Linked DNA regions of Homo sapiens: regions 2 and 3 are each linked to region 1. The links are contacts of gene promoters, found by promoter capture Hi-C in blood cells and fetal thymus (Javierre and others, 2016). All regions are on one chromosome and are shown on one strand. Each heading gives the region's core, a stretch centred on a gene start or on the middle of the fragment in contact. The rest is flanking DNA. Distances are from core to core; before and after follow the strand shown. Region 1 holds the start of CRNKL1 (crooked neck pre-mRNA splicing factor 1). Region 2 overlaps PPP1R3D (protein phosphatase 1 regulatory subunit 3D). Region 3 holds the start of LOC124904905 (a long non-coding RNA gene).

Evidence for each region. The method cuts DNA at HindIII sites, captures the fragments that hold promoters and counts their contacts. A CHiCAGO score of 5 or more calls a contact.
Region 2: a fragment that was not itself captured here is called in contact with the fragment with the promoter of CRNKL1 in region 1 in 1 of 17 cell types (activated CD4 T cells); the score reaches 5.2 in activated CD4 T cells.
Region 3: a fragment that was not itself captured here is called in contact with the fragment with the promoter of CRNKL1 in region 1 in 1 of 17 cell types (total CD4 T cells); the score reaches 7.3 in total CD4 T cells.

What each region holds. Positions count from the first base shown.
Region 1 is chr20:20,051,112-20,053,854 of GRCh38, forward strand. CRNKL1 (crooked neck pre-mRNA splicing factor 1) reads right to left here and starts at 1,355. Exons shown (of 14, transcript NM_001278628.2): 1 at 1,181-1,355. The coding sequence starts at 1,231. It overlaps CFAP61 (cilia and flagella associated protein 61), which reads left to right and starts at 1,421. Exons shown (of 27, transcript NM_015585.4): 1 at 1,421-1,480. RefSeq lists enhancers at 1,210-1,379, 1,390-1,689 and a silencer at 1,780-1,829. The HindIII fragment of the contact is 2,238 bases long and covers 1,312-2,743 here.
Region 2 is chr20:59,935,474-59,938,216 of GRCh38, forward strand. PPP1R3D (protein phosphatase 1 regulatory subunit 3D) reads right to left here. Exons shown (of 1, transcript NM_006242.4): 1 at 1,190-2,743. It also overlaps a transcript of FAM217B not described here. Among named protein-coding and RNA genes, the nearest start is that of SYCP2, 3.2 kb to the left of the region's middle. The HindIII fragment of the contact is 266 bases long and covers 1,294-1,559 here.
Region 3 is chr20:41,692,795-41,695,537 of GRCh38, forward strand. LOC124904905 (a long non-coding RNA gene) reads right to left here and starts at 1,381. Exons shown (of 2, transcript XR_007067588.1): 1 at 542-1,381; 2 at 1-274. RefSeq lists enhancers at 176-385, 526-745, 966-1,205. The HindIII fragment of the contact is 6,795 bases long and covers 1-2,743 here.

The DNA.
Region 1 (2,743 bases), core at 105-2,604:
GTCTTAGAAGCTTACAGTCTAACGTAGCTTAGAGCTGTGCTGTCCAACACAGTAGCTATGAGTCACATGTGGTGAGTACAAATTGAGGTGGACTGTAAGTGTAAAATACACATTGGTTTTGAAGATGAAGTATAAAAAAGAATAAACTACCTCATTACATTTTTTATACCGATTACATGTTGAAATGATAATATTTTGGATACATTAGCTCAAATAAAATATATATTATCAAAATTAATTTCACTTTTTTGCTTTGTTTTTACTTTTTAATGTAGATATGAGAAAATTTAAAATTTCATATGTGGTGTGCATTATATTTCCATTGGACCAGTGATGCCCAATAAAAGTTTATGTAGCTGAATTATAAAAAATGTTACTTAATGCCACATGTGGAGTAATGATGATAATGGTGATAGCTCATATTTAATAAGCACTAAGTGCCAGACACAGTGTTACTTGCTCTATATGCATTACTCCTGCGAGTCAGACAAATAGTTATGTAAAGGTCCAGTTCAAGAGAGTCATCCGGGCTCAAGAAAGACTGGAGGGAGGGTATCTGTAAAGGCTTCAAAGTCTGCCACATATTAAGCACTTGGTAAGTATTAGCTATCAAAGGAAATACCAGATAGTAAGTCTACTGTTTAATTAACTTATGATACTATACTACTCCTACCGTCTACTCTCGCCCTCCGCTGTCAGCTGGGCTAACTCCTATTCAGCCTTCAAGTCTCAGCTTAAAGGTCATTTCCTCAGCAAAATTTACTTTCAGGACCCCTTCATACGACCCCCTTATTCACGCCCATGGCATATTCTACTTTGCCTCTCGGTAACATCTAGCAAGGTCGTCTTTATACAGAAACTCGTGTTTTGAGTACTGCTTGTGGCCAGCGTACGAGCGTAGCTTCCCAGCGCCCAGTGCAGTGCCTGGCTCAGTAAATCTTCACCGAACCACCCCACTCCACTCCCCAGCAAAACCACCCCAGAACGAAGGCCACGCCAACGCGGGTCGTGCTCCGCGATGACAAGAGCCCGCGCCCCACCACCAGCTGCCCTTCCTCTCCATCTCTCAGGGTGAGCCTTCTCCCCGGCGGGAACACTCTCTCCCAACCCGGGCACCCTCAGGGCTGAGGGATGCCCCTTTCCTAGGCCACCTCCTACAAGGCCCCTCGCGATCGCCTACCTTGGCCACTTTGGGAATCCGCTGCTTCCCGGCCGCGGTGGAGGCCGCCATGTCTGCAGCAGTCGACCTCTGGACACCTGTCCCCGGCACGGACGCTAGAAATCGGCTCTGAGAGCTCACCGAAACCACAAAGCTTTCAGAAAACAAACAGGATCTCGGAACCGGAAGCGGAACTTGCAGGACTGACCTTTGACCTCTCGCTTGAGCCGTGACGGAGGCGGCACCGTTTCCATGGTGACCAGGCTGCGCGTCCTCCTTGCGGCAGCGCGTGGAGTGCGGCGTCCTGGAGCTGCGGATGAGGTGGGTAACGCCGTGCTGACTAGCAGCGACGCAAGGACTGCGGTGCAGGGCGTCCAGGGCGCATCCCCAGGTCAGCCTCCGGAACTGGGATGACCAGGCGAGGACGAGTGGCTCTGTCGAGCCGTGGCGCCCTGCAAGGGAGTAAGAACGGAGCTCCAATCTGGATGCTCGAGGGCGGGGGAAGAAGGGAGAGCGAGGAAACTACCATTCCCAGCATGCGACGGGGCGAGCTGCCGCCCTTTTAGGCTGCAATGCCTCGAGCATTGCATTCTAGTAGTCTCTGGGTCCACGCCCCCTCGTTTCTGGTTTCGGGACAGTTGTGCCCAAATAATTCTAAGGTGCCCAAATAATTAACTCTAAGGCTTGGAATTAAAAATAACAGAAGGTACTTTGAAGCCAGATATTAGGAAAAAATATAAATAGAGTAACTGGAAAACAACTCAGTCTTGTGATAAGAAACATGTTTAAATTCTGTGTGTGCCTTAATTACTCTAGTTAAATTTTCTTAGCCTCAATGTCCTCAACTATAAAACAAGGCTAATAACATCTGTTTCACTAGGATTAAAGACAAATGCTCAGTAGATGTTAGCTGTTATAATACTTAACCTGCCCTCAAAAACTGAAAAGCAAAGGTTAAGAGAATTTTTTTTAATAGACATTTTTAGAGAAGTTTTAGGTTCACAACAAAATTAAGTGGAAGACACAGAGATTTCCTCCCTCCACAGCTTCCTGCTATCAATTATTGTACCTCTTCCCTCCTCTAACAGCCTCCAACTCTTAAAAATATCCTCCACCAGAGCAGTACATTTGTTACAATCTTGAACCTACATTGACACATCATTATCACCCAAAGTTCATAGTTTATATTAGGGTTCACTCTTGGTGTACATTCTATGAGGTTGGACAAATGTATAATGACATGACTTGGCAGCTCATTTGTTAGGATAATTTCCACAGTTGCAAAGCTCTTTTGGTGTTTGGGGAAAATATATATTTATGTATGTAGTAATATCACGTCTACCAATGCAGATATTACTTTCAACAAAAGATTTATGCAGATTTCTAGAACTGCAGTCAGTTATAACCAACATCAATGTATTTGCCATAACTCTTTATTAACCATATTATTTAGATATTTTATCTCACTTTTCAAAATTTAAATAGAGAAGATTTTATATCACTTTCATAAAGCCACCTAACAAAATAAATAAATATTAAAAAGATGTTTCTTTGAAGTGATTTTCCTTAAATGTGTTACTGTAA
Region 2 (2,743 bases), core at 177-2,676, about 40 Mb after region 1:
TCAAAATTTGGAAACTATGTGCCGTGGTTCACACATATACTCCCTGCACTTTGGGAGGCTGAGTTGATGGGATTGCTTGAGGCCAGGAATTTGAAACTAGCCTGGGCAACATAGCTAGGCCCTATCTCTACAAAAAAACAAAATTAGCCAGGCGTGGTGGCATGTGCCTGTGCACCTAGCTGCTCTACGCCGGAGGCTGAGGTAGGAGAATTCTGCTTGAGCCCAGGAGCTGGAGGCTGCAGTGAGCTATGATTGCACCACTGCACTCCAACGTTGGTGACAAGGCAAGACCTTCTCTCAAAAAAGAGAAATATCATAATGTGGCGTTCAATTAATTTAGCTTTCTGAATCAACAAGCATTTATTTGCAATATTCTATATGTCATATAACAGGTAGAGAGAGCATTGACTTTGAAACAGGTTTCAATGTTCAATTTGTTACTTACCAGCTATGGGACTTTAGGTGAATTACAGTTATGTATTGCTTAATGATAGGGGTAAGTTCTGAGAAAGGTGTCCTCCTCAAGCAATTTTGTTATTGTGTGAATATCTTAGCGTTTACTTACAAAAACCTAGATGGTATAGCCTACTACACACCTCAGGTATATATAGTACAGTCTATTGCTTCAAGGCTGCAAACCTGTATACAGCATGTTACTGCAGTGAATACGGTAGACAACTGTAACACAAGGGTATTTGTGTATCTAAACACAGAAAAGATACGGAAAAAAATCTGGTATAATTCCATGGATCCACGTCATATATACAGTTACCCTGTTGAGTGAAATGTTATGTGGCCTATGGCTGTACTTACACCACTCTGAGCTTTATTTTCAGCTAAGAAAAAGGGGATATTGTCTACCAGGTAGCATAACATTCAGAATTAAATGAAATCACATATTTAAAGCACTTAGCACTGTGGCCAAGCAAATAAGGGAAGACAAAATAAATGTAAGTTTTCTTCCCCCATGTGCAAGACTTTGTACTTAGGTGAGGGTCACGATCCGGAAGGCAGACAGACAGACACTCATTACTGCCTGCACAGTGTCATTAACTGTTGTAAGAGAAGTACATTAATGATCACATTCCCTGTATTCCCCTAGAGCTTTCTTCATACCTCATGCTGACCTGGCATATAAAATTGCATTTCCTTTTCTCAAAGACACATACAACAACTCTGCTACTGACGCTGAGGCACAATGACAAAATTTATTTTTGCCAAGGCTCTACGTTTATCAGTGTTGTAGAAAGGATAAGACTTGCATGTGAAATGATTTAGACAAGAAGTTTCTAAAGCTTGGTCTTCTGTAATTAGGCCACAAGAAAAACATACTGAAGCATAATAGAATGGCTCACAACTGTTTTTGCACATATACTTTAATACTTAGGCTTGGGTAAAATCATTTTAAATAACATATTAAAATATGTTTGGGGGGACAACCCAGCAATTGCACAGCCCACTAGAAAATTTTAACATCTAAGTAATATAACTGTTTTAGGGTCTGAAAGTTCTCCTTCAGTTGTTCCACAGCCTCTTTATCAACTAGGCAAATATATTTAAGCTTTTAAATTTCATAATGTTGGTATTTTTTAAAAGGCACGGGAGGTTCACTTAATATTAAATATATAACATTCACTTTCATAACCAAAACCTTTTTGGCAAGTGACTTTCACATAGATTATGAGATTCTCTACATGCCTTAAAATAAATCTGGCAGCTCTTAACTCATATCTAAATTCTCTGGACAACTGTCTTGCTCTCTGTTTTGGGGCCAGGGGCGTAGCAGTGAAGGCCCTAACAGGCTTGCTGACCTAATTGGACAGTTTGTTAAATAGCAGGAAATGTAACAAGGCTTCTCTCTCTCTTGCATGTTAATGTAGTGAACAGTGCTAATAGCCAGAGATTGTGCAATTTAGTCACAATATTTCAAGCCAAAATTCAGTGTTCTTATATTAAAAGATACCGAAGAAAGCTATCCTTGTTCTTTGAATTATAAAAGCACAGAGGTTGCAATGATCAGAACCAAACTGGTTAAAAGCCGAAATGCATCCTTTCAGTATTGATTTGACAGATGCCAACAAGCATTCAAAAATTTAGAGTTAATTTCTTGGTGACAGGTAGCATAAAATTGATCAGACTGGTTTCAGCTGTATCATAAGCTTCACAAATTGGAGATCTTGTCCTTCCTGGCTGTTTTTTTTTTTTTCCCACACCTTAATTCTAGCACCTGTTGTCAGACCACTGTTCAGCACCAAAAGAACTCCTCAGCCTGGAGTTCTTTGGAGTTTTAAGTGATTGCCTAACTCAGCAGGGGACAGTGGTCTTGACTTCTTGGTTGACGGTTTAAAAACATAAAAGAATTTTATATTTTAAAACTGACAAACTAGAAAATGTTAGAAACTCTATCTGAAGGCAGAAAGTATAAAGTTGGTGGGTACCTGATAAAACATGATGTATGTAAATACAGTTCAAAACAATTTAAAAGTATAAATATTTGTCAATTATTTTTCCTCCAGTGCTCTGGCTATTGCTGAAAACACCTTCTAGTTCCACCTTGTAACTGGACTCCCAAAAGATGAATGCTGACATCTTCTGATGCTTAACAAGAAATAAAAATAGTCACCTTAATCATCAAAAAGGTAATTGCAAAGGGCACTGTTGCCTGAAATTCTCTAGTCACCTGAAAACTGAAATAACTGAGGCAAGACTTCTTAAAATGCTTAGTTTCAAACTTAAACAGAAT
Region 3 (2,743 bases), core at 113-2,612, about 22 Mb after region 1:
GACCTGAGCACCTCTCCTAACAGCAGCTCAGGCAAAGGCCACGTCTCGGAACAGTTGGCTGCACAGGTCACGTGACGCGCCCCTAGCCCGGCTCTATTTGGCTGCAAGAGCGCTCTGTCGCCTGCCTCGGACTCTGTTTCCCAGAAGTCTTCCTGGAAACTACATTTCGCAGGGGGCTTTGCGGCGCCTACTTCCTCCTGGCTGATTAGATGGGACTGGTGCCGTTGGCCGGACGTTTTTGGGAGCTTCACAGGCTGATGGGGAAGGGCGAAACCTGCTCGATTAAAACAACCCGCATTTCGAGGCGAGGAAGCGAGTCACGGCTCGGCCCCTCCCTTTGTGAGGAGAACCAGGCCCGCCTCGGGGTCCCCTGGGCAATGTAGTAACGTGAAGGTCTCCGAGTCCCGCTAGCACTCCCGGGGCGTGGGGGTCCCAAGTGGGACTGGAACCACCGCGAAAGAGGCGGGGCTGCGCGGATCTTCCACACCAGCTCCTCCCTTCCGTCAGGGGGTGCTGCGCATGAACGTTTTCCCATCTCTACCTCTTGGTTATCCCTCAGCAGAGATTCTTCTTTTACTCTGTACAGTTTTCAGCATCCCTCAAGCTGATATTTCAATTAAACAAATTTTAGAATTCTGAGAAATGGCGAAATAATGTAAAAGAAACAAATGATATTGGCCCTAAATTATCCTCCAGCCCCTGCTGCTCATCGGACACTTTATGAGGTTACAAAGGACCATGGCGCTGCGCATATGGGGGATCCATTTTACCCACCGTACTTAGATCAGGCTGTGACTTCCGCCCTCGAGGAGCGGCTGCTGCTCTACCGGGTGTGCTCATTTAGCCCTAGCGTTGTTTGTGCGTTTGAGGACATTCGCTGAGCCAAGCTGCAAGGGTGTCGTTATCATTTTACGAGGGGAATACGGAGAGCATGGTGGATAAAAGGTGGTTGACCTGCCCAGGCTATACAGCTAGAAGTGCCGTTAGAACTTGGTACAGGTGGAACTGATTCTGATACTTGTCTCAAACTGTTACCAGTGGAGGGTGTTCAGGTTCTTGGTGTCTTGAACAAATAATTGGACAAAACGGCACAAACAAAGCAAGGGAATAATGAAGTAACAAAAGCAGAGATTTATTGAAAACGAAAGTACATTTCACAGGGTGGGAGCAGGCTGAGCATGGGGGCTCACGAGCGCTGTTATAGAATTTTCTGGGGGTTAAATACCCTCTAGAGGTTTCCATTGGTTAGTTGGTGTATGCCTTATGTAAATGAATAGGTTAAAAGTTACAAAGGCATTGTATGCCCTATGTAAATAAAGAGGATATTTCGGCGGGGAGTTGTGGCTTACACCTGTAATCCCAGCACTTTGGGAGGCCAAGGCGGGCGGATCACCTGAGGTCAGGAATTCGAGACCAGCCTGGTCAGCATGGTGAAACCCCATCTCTACTAAAAATAAAAATAAAAATAAATTAGCTGGGCGTGGTGGCATGCGCCTGTAATCCCCTGGTGGCTGAGGCAGGAGAATCACTTGAACCGGGCAGAGGTCACAGTGAGCCGAGATCGCGCCGTTGCACTCCAGCCTGGGCGACAGAACAAGACTCAAATAAATAATAAATAAATAAATAAAAAGGATGTGTCTTATCATAGCTGAAGTGTTTCATTTGATTTAATTCTAGCAAGTCCTTAAGTTCCCTGCCTCCAGGCCATATTCTGCCTCAAGACCTATCCTGTTTACTTCGTGTAGCATTAGTTTCTTTTTCCCAGGTTTGCTGCTACTTACTTGGTTAAGCCATGATCATCTCGGCTGTACTCACAGTCTCATAAATCCGGTGTTTATTGAGTGTTAGCACCGTGCCAGGCAGTGTGTTGAGTGCTGGGACATGGTGTTGAACAGGGGCAGACACAACCTTACCTTCATGGTGTTTACAGCCTAATGGGGAAGACAGTTACTGATCACATAATACAAATAAGAATAAAATGTCAAATTGCGATAAATAGAACACCCCCACCCCCAGGATGCTACAAGAGAGAATAATGGAGGAAAATTGATACATTAGATTGATTAGGGAAAGAAAGAAATGTTTGGTCTGAAATGCTTGAAGAAGGCTGAGAAGAAGGAAGCTGTGTAACAGCCAAGAGAAGAGTAGTCCAGGCAGAGGGATCAGCAAGTGCAAAGGCTCTGAGCGGGGAAGAGCTTGGTGTTTTGCAATTCAAGGAACTCAGAGAAGTCCCTTGTGATTGGAACACAGTGAAGTAGGGGAGAGTGGAACAAATTGAGACTGGCTTTCCTTTTACCAGTCTTGCCTCTTCTTTTCTTTTCTTTTTTTTGAGACAGAGTTTCACTCTTGTTGCCCAGGCTGGAGTGTAGTGGCACAATCTTGGCTCACCGCAACCTCCACCTCCCAGGTTCAAGCGATTCTCCTGCCTCAGCCTCATGAGTAGCTGGGATTATAGGCATGCGCCACCACGTCCGGCTAATTTTGTATTTTTAGTAGAGACGGGGTTTCTCCATGTTGGTCAGGCTGGTCTCAAACTCTTGACCTCAGGTGATCCACCCGCCGGGCCTCCCAAAGTGCTGGGATTACAGGTGTGAGCCACTGCACCCAGCCTAGTCTTGCCTCTTCTAAACCATATCCACACTGGCAGTATAGGAATATTTTCAGTACTCAAATATGATGACTTGACTTTCCTTTAGAGGCTTTGTGTCCCCTACAAGTTTTAGCTCAAACTCCTCAGCACAGT